Linked DNA regions of Homo sapiens: region 1 is linked to region 2. Evidence: promoter capture Hi-C in 16 types of primary human blood cells and fetal thymus (Javierre and others, 2016). All regions are on one chromosome and are shown on one strand. Each heading gives the region's core, a stretch centred on a gene start or on the middle of the fragment in contact. The rest is flanking DNA. Distances are from core to core; before and after follow the strand shown.

Evidence for each region. The method cuts DNA at HindIII sites, captures the fragments that hold promoters and counts their contacts. A CHiCAGO score of 5 or more calls a contact.
Region 1: a contact is called between a fragment that was not itself captured here and the fragment with the promoter of SMC3 in region 2, in 5 of 17 cell types (naive CD4 T cells, total CD8 T cells, total CD4 T cells and 2 more). The highest score is 8.5, in naive CD4 T cells.

What each region holds. Positions count from the first base shown.
Region 1 is chr10:112,178,893-112,183,473 of GRCh38, reverse strand. GPAM (glycerol-3-phosphate acyltransferase, mitochondrial) reads left to right here. Exons shown (of 22, transcript NM_001244949.2): 2 at 583-680; 3 at 1,661-1,791; 4 at 2,879-3,001. The coding sequence starts at 1,690. Among named protein-coding and RNA genes, the nearest start is that of GPAM, 2.6 kb to the left of the region's middle. The HindIII fragment of the contact is 1,702 bases long and covers 1,018-2,719 here.
Region 2 is chr10:110,565,169-110,570,115 of GRCh38, reverse strand. SMC3 (structural maintenance of chromosomes 3) reads right to left here and starts at 2,421. Exons shown (of 29, transcript NM_005445.4): 1 at 2,285-2,421; 2 at 1,103-1,178. The coding sequence starts at 2,299. It overlaps LOC105378483 (a long non-coding RNA gene), which reads left to right and starts at 2,808. Exons shown (of 2, transcript XR_946318.2): 1 at 2,808-3,083. RefSeq lists a silencer at 1,812-2,101 and enhancers at 2,442-2,541, 2,552-2,601, 3,416-4,118. The HindIII fragment of the contact is 2,181 bases long and covers 438-2,618 here.

The DNA of each region.
Region 1 (4,581 bases), core at 619-3,118, 1.6 Mb before region 2:
TGGGTTCCCCTGGGTTGGAAGGAGTCCTTATGGACTCAGTCCCCTAAGTATCTGCACGCGCGGAGGCGCCGCCAGCCAGCCCGCCTGGGTCCCTAGGGAACATTGAGGCAGTAAGGGGTACTCTGAGAGCAGCCGGTATGCTGGAGATAATTAATGACAGCGTTACCATTGATTGGACTGAGCGCTCACTGTGTGTTACACACTGTGGTAGACCCTTTGTTTATATTATTCCGTCCTCTCAACAATCCAGGAGGTTAAGAGCTATCATTCTGCCCATTTTCCAGATGGGAAAACTAAGGCATAGAAGTTAACCAACTTATGGTAATAAAAAATCACACAGATGGTAAGCAGTGGAAGATTTAAACCTCACAGCTGGTCTTCCAGCCTCTGTCCTTTTCAGATCCTCTAGTCAGCTTCTCTCAGCGCATGCTGCTGGCTGGTGCCTCTGGGATATTGCTTCTTTATTACTCCTTGACCTAGAGCGAACTGTGCGGAGGGAGGAAGTGCAAAACGTGGACCTCCTGTTGGCACAAACGAGCCTCTTTGTCCTCTCCTCATCCTCTCTTCACTTCATTTTCTCAGGCAGCAGCGGCTCCCCTGTTGTATGGACATTCTGCACCCGAAACTGATAGCTGAGTCCTGAAGTTTTATGTTATGAAACAGAAGAACTTTCATCCCAGGTGCATTGGTTTATTCTCTCCCCTAGCCTGTTATGTTAGATTGTACTTATGTTAAATTTTTAAGGACATAGGTGGTTATGCCGAGAATAACAGTGACTGTAGCCAACCCATGTGGGGATTGTAAAGAAATTGGAATATGCCTTCCAAAGGAACACTGTTAATCTAGACATGACCTTTCAGGATTTTAAAGGAATAATTTTAGGCCAGGTGAGAAACAGCCAAAAGCAAAAATAATGTGAGGCTAGAGATTATGTTTGAAAGTTTTTATATTTTGGATTAATATCTATTCTAGGAGTTTACTCTTAGTGAATCTTTTTCCTTAGGGTAGAAAAAAGCTTATCGAAAAGGATGAAAACTTATACATCAGATATTTCAAAATAGTGTGCTTTTCTTTCAGAGCTTTGTAGCTTTGTATTACCTTTGTATTAAAAGTGAAAATGTTCTTTTAGGACATCACAAGAAAATTAAGATCTTAATTTAAGTACGGGAACTTAAGGGGTGCCCTAATTGCCTTAATTAAATAAACATGCCTTCCTTCTGCCAGGAACTATTCAATTAACAAAAATGAAATAAGAATAAGCTCTTATTTTCATTTGCAAATGACTATTCATAGCTATTTTGTTTGGATACAATTCATAGCTATTTTGTTTGGATACTATTTTGTTTGCATACTATGTTTTGTTTGGATACTATTCATAGCTATTTTGTGTGGATACAAAGGATACAATGTTGTATCCTTATATATTCAGGAAGTCTTAGAATACAAATGCTGATTTTTTTTTTTTCTAGTCAGGGAAGCCTAACTGTGTTCATATAAACACATCAAAGTCAGTTTTTACCTTGTGACTCAACATGGTAGAAGTCTGTCAGTTCATGTGATATCCCATTGTGGAGCAAAGTAATGTAGAAATCAGAATTTTGAGTTCTAGTATTTACTCTCTCGATTCCTTGTTAATTTAAATGGTACCTATTTTTTATAGCACATGATTTGGGAATTACACTTTGTGACATGGATGAATCTGCACTGACCCTTGGTACAATAGATGTTTCTTATCTGCCACATTCATCAGAATACAGTGTTGGTCGATGTAAGCACACAAGTGAGGAATGGGTAAGTTTAGGATAAGAGTTAAAAGCACTCAGCCTAAAAATGTTCATTTCAATGATGTTTATGAAGGTGCAAATACTGGCAGCAACATAATATCACATCAAGATTAATAGCTACAGAAACTGGTATGTTTATGAAGCCTAATAAAAAATTTTATGGCATTATATTGGGAAGAAAAAATGGTTAGAAAATTTATGTACACTGATTATGTTAGAAAACAAAATAATCATTTTGCATAGGAAAAAAACCCTAGTAGTAGTTTTGGGTCGGTAAGAAATTTTTTTTTCTTTCTTTCTCTTGGTATGTACTTTCCATGAGTTATACTTGAAAAGCATGAATTTTATAATAGAAGTAAACTTTAAAAAATTAGGAACTTATAGTATGAATTCAATCCAAAAGGCGTACATTTTCTTGGATTGTTTTTCCTATTTCAATATAACATGACGTATTTTAAATATCTTAATTGTCTTTATATAAAAAATGGTGGGGTTTTTTTTTTTGCTTAATTTTGAGAATGTTATATCTGTATAACAGAGATGTGAGCAACTGAGCTCAAAGTTAAGCATTTTTAGAATAGAAGAGCAAGGTTTGACCCTAATTGAATAGTATAGCTATAATTTAAGTTCTGGTCTTTAAGTTCCCTTGATAAGATAAAGGAATGTTATATAAGTTTACCTGTTTTTTATTTAAAGTAAAATTATAAAAACTTGCTCACTATGTAAGGCCTTTATAGTTCTGTAGTGCGACTGTGTGATTTAAAAGGGGGTAAGGTTAATTGTTAGACTAGAGATCCAGGAGTCTGAATTGATTTATCTAGCTGTCAGAAGTCTGTTTGACCTTCTACAATTTAGTTTTTAAATTTTTGAATACTGCCTTCAGTGTGTAGCTATTACTATCCTTGGGTGCTCAGCTTTTGCTTATGTGGTAAGCTTTTATCCAAGTGTTGATCATGGAGGGAGTACTTAAATGAAAATCACCCAGAATATGCCATAAGTTTTTCTTCTGTTCAAAATACTTTAGATTTTGAGATCAAGTAGACAAGTATTCTCTTGCCATTTAGAAACTATATTTTTTTCTTAATATTTGTCAGGGTGAGTGTGGCTTTAGACCCACCATCTTCAGATCTGCAACTTTAAAATGGAAAGAAAGCCTAATGAGTCGGAAAAGGCCATTTGTTGGAAGATGTTGTTACTCCTGCACTCCCCAGAGCTGGGTAAGAACCTTACTGCTTATTGACCCTAATACTCAGCATAAAATATTATTTCCAACTTTGTAGTAGGCAGTCTTATTGGACTAAATTCACTTTCAGAACAGAGACCCATGTTTATGAACCAAATATTTCAAGTAAAGATGTTGACACACTTTTTCTTTCCATTTATTTATTCAGTAAATATTGGTCCCATAATTGATACTAGGTAACATTCTAGTTCTTTTGAGGTTTTAGTAGGATTTTAAGGGGGAGAGTAGATCTTACTTTTGGTTAAGTCTTCAAAGGAGTTAGTGGGAACCTTCATGAACTTTTAGGTGTTGAACTTTAGCACTTAACATTAAAATTCTAGCAAGATAAGAAAGAGATAATGGGACAGAATAAGAAGTTAAAGCTGTGACTTTGCTCTGAGCCTTTGCTAATGGAAGGTGTCTGTTGACTTTGTGATAGTGAAAGATTGTCACTAAAATGTTAGAATGAAGATTTAAGAGAGTGTATATGGGTTTGTTGTTTGTATTTTGGTGAAAAAACACAAGCCATGCAATATCTTTTGCATTACAGTGCAGTCTTTGAGAAGAGCCAAGTGGGTGAGAGGTATATTTTCGGTGGTAGTTGAAGAGAAGGACAAATTAGCACAGGAACAAGAACTTCACGTAGTTGTGTTTGAAGGCAGTAGAATTGCCTTTTAAAAGTCATATCTGGATGTTAAGCTCTCTCTGGGATCCAGTTATTAGGATGAAGAAATTCTGCCGTTTAAGTGCCTGCCATTTATAGAGGTTGCTTGTAACTTGTGTGGCTAGGTAATTGTGCTGTGTGAATTTTCTACTCAAGGTTGGTTTGGCAGAAAGTAGAATTCTGAGTCTGGTATAAAGGGGTTTACTAACATGGGAGAGATTTGTGTGGAACCCAAGCAGTTTATGTTAAATGTTCAGATCTGCTGAAGAATGTCTTGTTATAAATATTGCTTCTTTTAAACCACAACTACCTTGTTGCAAGAATTTGGTAGAATTCAAGAATCACAGAAATTTCTAGCCTAGGAGTAAAGCTAGTTCAGATTAATAGGTCACTTGAAATCAAGATTTAAACAGAATGTCATTTTCTTTTTAGATCTGACATCTAGTCTAATTCTAATTTTGAATACTTAAAACAATAACTACAATGTGTTCTTAAGTCAGAGGGTATAGGAAATAATTTGGTGGTGGTAATGGTTTGGAGTAAAGGGTAAAGGTAGATAGTACAACAGACAATTGATTTTTGCCCTACTATAGTACCTGATGGAGTTGAACTTGATCTTGAATTACTTCCATGACATGATCATTTAAAATAATTTGTTTAAAAATGTTTTTATTGGTAACTGTATAATATTTGCTATCTTTTCTCTGAAATCGTATTTTCCTTTTCTCTAAAGAGATTCCACTTAAGTAGTTTTATATTTGTTGAGGGAACATTGTGCTTTTTCAGCATTTAAGTGTGGAACAGTTACCTTTTTGCCCATATTGATAAAGCTATAGACTATCTTTTCAGCAAAGCTATCTCTGGATTATCTTTCAAGATCACATGTAAAGAGGGTGACCAGTAGACAGACG
Region 2 (4,947 bases), core at 1,172-3,671:
GAGAGCCTCACGAGAACCTAACCATGCAGGTATCCTGATCATGGATGTCTGACCTCCAGACTATGAGAAAAAAAATATCTTGTTTAAGCCACCAGTCTATGGTATTTTGTTATGGCTGCCTTAGCAAACTAATACACCACTTAGTTTGGACTCTGTACAGCAAAACTGTGTCAACAGCAGTCTGTGTTTCTGGTGTCCAGAAGCACTCCTTTCATCTATCCTGTAAAATACTCAGCAGAGTGTCAGAAAACATTTTTGTTAGCTGTATCAGCAAAATGCACACTACAATCTGAGCAATCTATAATGACTACATATTGTTAATGGCAATCACCATTAGCTCTTTATCTTCACACTTACATAAGGTTTCTCATTTAATCTTCTCAACAGCCCTATGAGACAGGTATCATCTCCACTTTACAAATGAGAAAACTGAAGCTTCTCAGAAAGTGAAAAAGAACGTGTGCCACAACTGGGATTTTTTTTTTCGTTGTTGTTATACTAGGATACATGTGCACAACATGCAGGTTTGTTACATAGGTATACATGTGCCATGTTGGTTTGCTGCACCCATCAACTCGACATTTACATTAGGTATTTCTCCTAATGCTATCCCTCCCCCAGGCCCCCACCCCCCTATAACTGGGATTTGAACCCCATTCTGTTATGCTCCAAAGTTTATGCTCTTCCAATCTAGCTACATGGTCTGTCCTTAGAGACACTGACTGCCGGGGTGGGGGGGGAATCCTGGCATCTACTTTGTGAATAAAAATTGTCTGTCTCTGAAATAAGGCAACAGTCAGCATTTTCACTAGGATATATAACAAGAACAGAAGAGCGGAAATGCTTTAAAACACTCTTACACACACATACAAGGCTACCTAGATAAAAAATGGATAACTTATGAGTGTCTTATCCAAACATTTTAAGTTTATAAAAATAAGCAATTCATCAGTGCAATAAGACAGAAAAGTTATTTCACGCAGAAAAATATAACTTAATATTCAAAGACAATTCCTGTCTCCTTAAGCCAATATAGAAATGGACAGAATTTACATTATCTGTATAGACTATAAATATGACCGAGTAAACCAAGAACACTTACCAATCACATTATGTTTTGAACTGAAGGGATCTACAATTGTTTGATCTCTGTAACTTCGAAAACCCTGGATAATCACCTAGTAAATAAAAAACATTTTTGAGAACCCACCCCACAAAAAAAATTAACATTTTTCTCTTGCATTTCTTTCTTGTTTTTCATTTAATGCAATATAGAAAACTCGAAATTTCATATAAGAAAAATTCATTTTGGAAAGTGGTGATTAAAAATCTGCTAAAAAAAAAAAAAGGTACTTTTATCGGTAATCTTTGCCAAGGCAATGCTGCTGGGTTTTATTTTTTTTTAGGAGTTATGCTGTCAACCTGTTAAGGACCTTTCAAAATCAAAAACACTGTGTGAGCTTAACTGAACCCTAAACGCTGCAGTACAATAGCAAGTCTATAAAAGCAGGCCGACGGGCCCCAGCTCTCCTGACTCCAAGACCACCGAGTGCTGCTTTCAGTCACTCACGCCGGCCAGCCTGAAAGAACCCACGTTCCAAAGAAGGAGTGCTCAGAGCCCGACAGACCCAACAGAAAACCGTCTCCAAGGCCGTGTGCCTGGGCTCATCTTTGTGGTGGAGTCCCGCGCGGGAAGACCATTTTGACAGAAGTAAACAACCGAGGGAGGCGGCGCTCCGTATCCTGCAAGCAGGAGGGTCCCGCTCACTTCGCGGGTTAACTGGGGAGAAGAACGGCTCCCCGCAGTGACAGGTGACGACACCCCAGCCAATGCCCCCAGGGCCGCCCCCGGGCCGGGGAAGCCACCTTTCCACACATCCCAGGCACATGGGCCGTGTGAGGCCACCCCTGCAGGACCACACAGCCCTTCCCGCCCGCGGCCGCCCCGGCGGGGTGCCCCCCGCCAGCTCTGGGGCCACCCAGGAAGGCCCAGTCCCTCCCAGCGGCCCGCCCGCCGGCCCTTCCACACCTCTCGGAGATCCTGCCTCTCCCAGACAAGCGCCAGCAGGGAGGCCGGGGCTGCAAAGGAGTGCCCCAATTCTCCGCGACCCCGCAGCCGGGGCACTAGCGGGACCCGGGTCTCCCTCCTCCCCCACAGTCCCCGCCCAGCCCTGGTCCAGCCTGTGGAGACAGGGGAGAGGCTGCGGGTGGCGCCGCAACACTCCCGCCTCAAGGAGCGGCCCTTACCGGCCCATGACGGGGTGGAGGGACGCGAAGGCCTTACCTGCTTTATGTACATGATTCCGGGCCCCTGGCCTGGAAGGAGACCTGCCCCGGAGCAGCAACCGCACGGCCGCAGGGTCAGGTGAGGCGCCTACGCGACCCCTCCCCCAAAGCGCCGCTCGCTCCCCTCAGCCAAACAAAATGGCGGCGCTCGTGGGGGCGGAGTCCGCGCCTCGGACGGAACCACCTTGCAGCCTTCACAGGGCGTAGGAGGAGTCAAGTTCAGGTCTGCTCTTTCTTTTAGGCAAAACCAGTCCTCCACAGCGTTTTTTGGTGGATTTCTTTTGAATCTAGAATTCTGTAGCTAACGCTTTCCTGAGACTTAGTCAAAAGCTTCACTCGGAAAATCTATGACCGTAGGGTTGGTCCGTACCACCTCCGAGCGCGGGGCCAATGGTCGCGTCCACAAAGGGGGAAAGGTTCCGCGCCAAAGCCAAGAGGGAGACTCCGAGGGCCAGTAGCGCCGCGGGCTGTCGGCCACGTGATTCCGCGCTGTTTAAAAAAGCGGACCTCGCGCGCACTGTGCTAGCCTTGGAACACATGGAATGCTGGTGATTCTTGGAATTCTGTGTGCGGAGTCACTGCTGCCCCTTTGTTATCGCTCTCCATAGGAACGTTTACAATCTTAGCACGCCCCAAGCTGGTTACGAATTGCCCACTCGGAGGACAACCCCGAAGGGATTTGTCAATGCTCGAAAATTTGTTTTAATAATGTGATGATTAATTCCGTCGGGAACTGTTTCTGTTCTACCATCTGCTATAAATCTAGGCAGATCTGTACAATTGCAACAAAGATTTAGGTAAGGCTGAAAGCTTTTAATCCACTTTAAAAACAAAAGAAAACAGCCTGAAAGATACTAGGTGCTAGTGGCAACCCTAGGTCTGTCTGATCCTTGTCAGTCTTGGGAGAAAAACATCATTTGTTTAGAAAATGAATCTCTGGGCTGCTCTGAAATTACTTGCTGGGAAGAGAACAAAATAACTACCCAAATCATCCCCAGCCCCACCCCCGCCCGCTGCTGGAGACAATTCTGGCCCTAATTATTTCTAGATTGAACTATTTTTAGTAGCCTCCTAACTGCCTCTGCTAACCAGGGTATCTCCCTAGGAGTCCTTTATCTGGAGCCCGGATCAAATCCTATCCAGCCCTTGGTTTAAAAAAATAAATAGGCCTGGTCGAGTGGCTCAAGCGTGTAATCCCAGCACTTTGGGAGGCTGAGGGGGGAGGATCACCTGAGGTCACGAGTTCAAGACCAGCCTGGCCAGCATGGCGAAACCCCCGTCTCTACTCGAAATACAAAAATTAGCTGGGCGTCGTGGCGGGTGCCTGTAATCCCAGTTAGTCGGGAGGCTGGGGCAGGAGAATTGCTTGAATCCAGGAGGCAGAGGTTGCAGTGAGCCAAGATCGCGCCACTGCACTCCAGCCTGGGCAACAGAGCGAGACTGTCTCAAAATAAATTAAATAAATATGTAAGCATTTTCTTTTCTTTATTTCTAACTTTTTTTTTTTTTTTTGACAGGATCTTGCTCTGTCACCCAGGGTGGAGCTGGAGCATAGTGGCTCGGTCATGGTTCACTGCAGCCTCAAACTCCTGGGTTCAAGCCATCCTCCCACCTCAGCCTACAGGCTGTGGCCACCAAGCCCAGCTTTTTTTTGTTTTTGTAGAGACCAGGTCTCCTTATGTTGCCCAGGCTGGTCTCTAACTTCTGGCCTCAAGCGATCCTCCCACCTCTGCCTCCCTAAATGCTGGGATTACAGGAATGAGCCACTGCACTCAATCTAAACATTTTACTTCTAGATTTTAGTTGTATTATTTAAAGCTTAGGACAGGTATGGTGGTTCACGCCTGTAATCCCAGCACTTTGGGAGGCCCAGGTGGGTGGATCACTTGAGGTCAGGAGTTTCAGAACAGTCTGGCCAACGTGGCAGATAGGATTATCTTATACATCCTGTTTGTAATTCTAAATATGATGGAGTTTTATCATCTTCATTTTATAGACTAGGAAGTGGAGGCTCAGCATGGCAAAACTCCGTCTCTACTAAAAATACAAAAATTAGCTGGGCGTGGTGCAGACGCCTGTAATCTCAGCTACTCAGGAAGCTGAGGCAGGAGAATCACTTGAACCCAGGAGGCAGAGGTTGCAGTGAGCCGAGACTGACACTGCACTCCAGCCTGGGTGATGGAGCGAGACTCTGTCTCAAAAAAAAAAATTCTAAGCCTCCACTTCCTAGTCTATAAAATGAAGATGATAAAACTCCATCATATTTAGAATTACAAACAGGATGTATAAGATAATCCTATCTACCTAAAATTGTTTATACATATGTAGGCAAAATATGAAAAGATGGTGACTAAAACATTTGAATGGCTTTCACAGTGATGGGAGTTTTACTTTCTTCCTTAGGCTTTTCCATATTAAATGAAGCTTATACAATTAGCTTATATAATTTATATAGGCAGAAAAAAAGATCAGCGAAAAACCTAAAATAATCAAAAGGTGATTTTGAGAATGTAATGCTTTTATTTATATTTATGTATTTATTGTCTATCTCTGCACGAATATAAATCCAAGAGAGAAGGGACTTCATTTTGTTCCTGCTGTTACTTAGTAACTAATTCACAGAAAGTACTCAGTATATATTTATGAGTGAAAAATGCACAG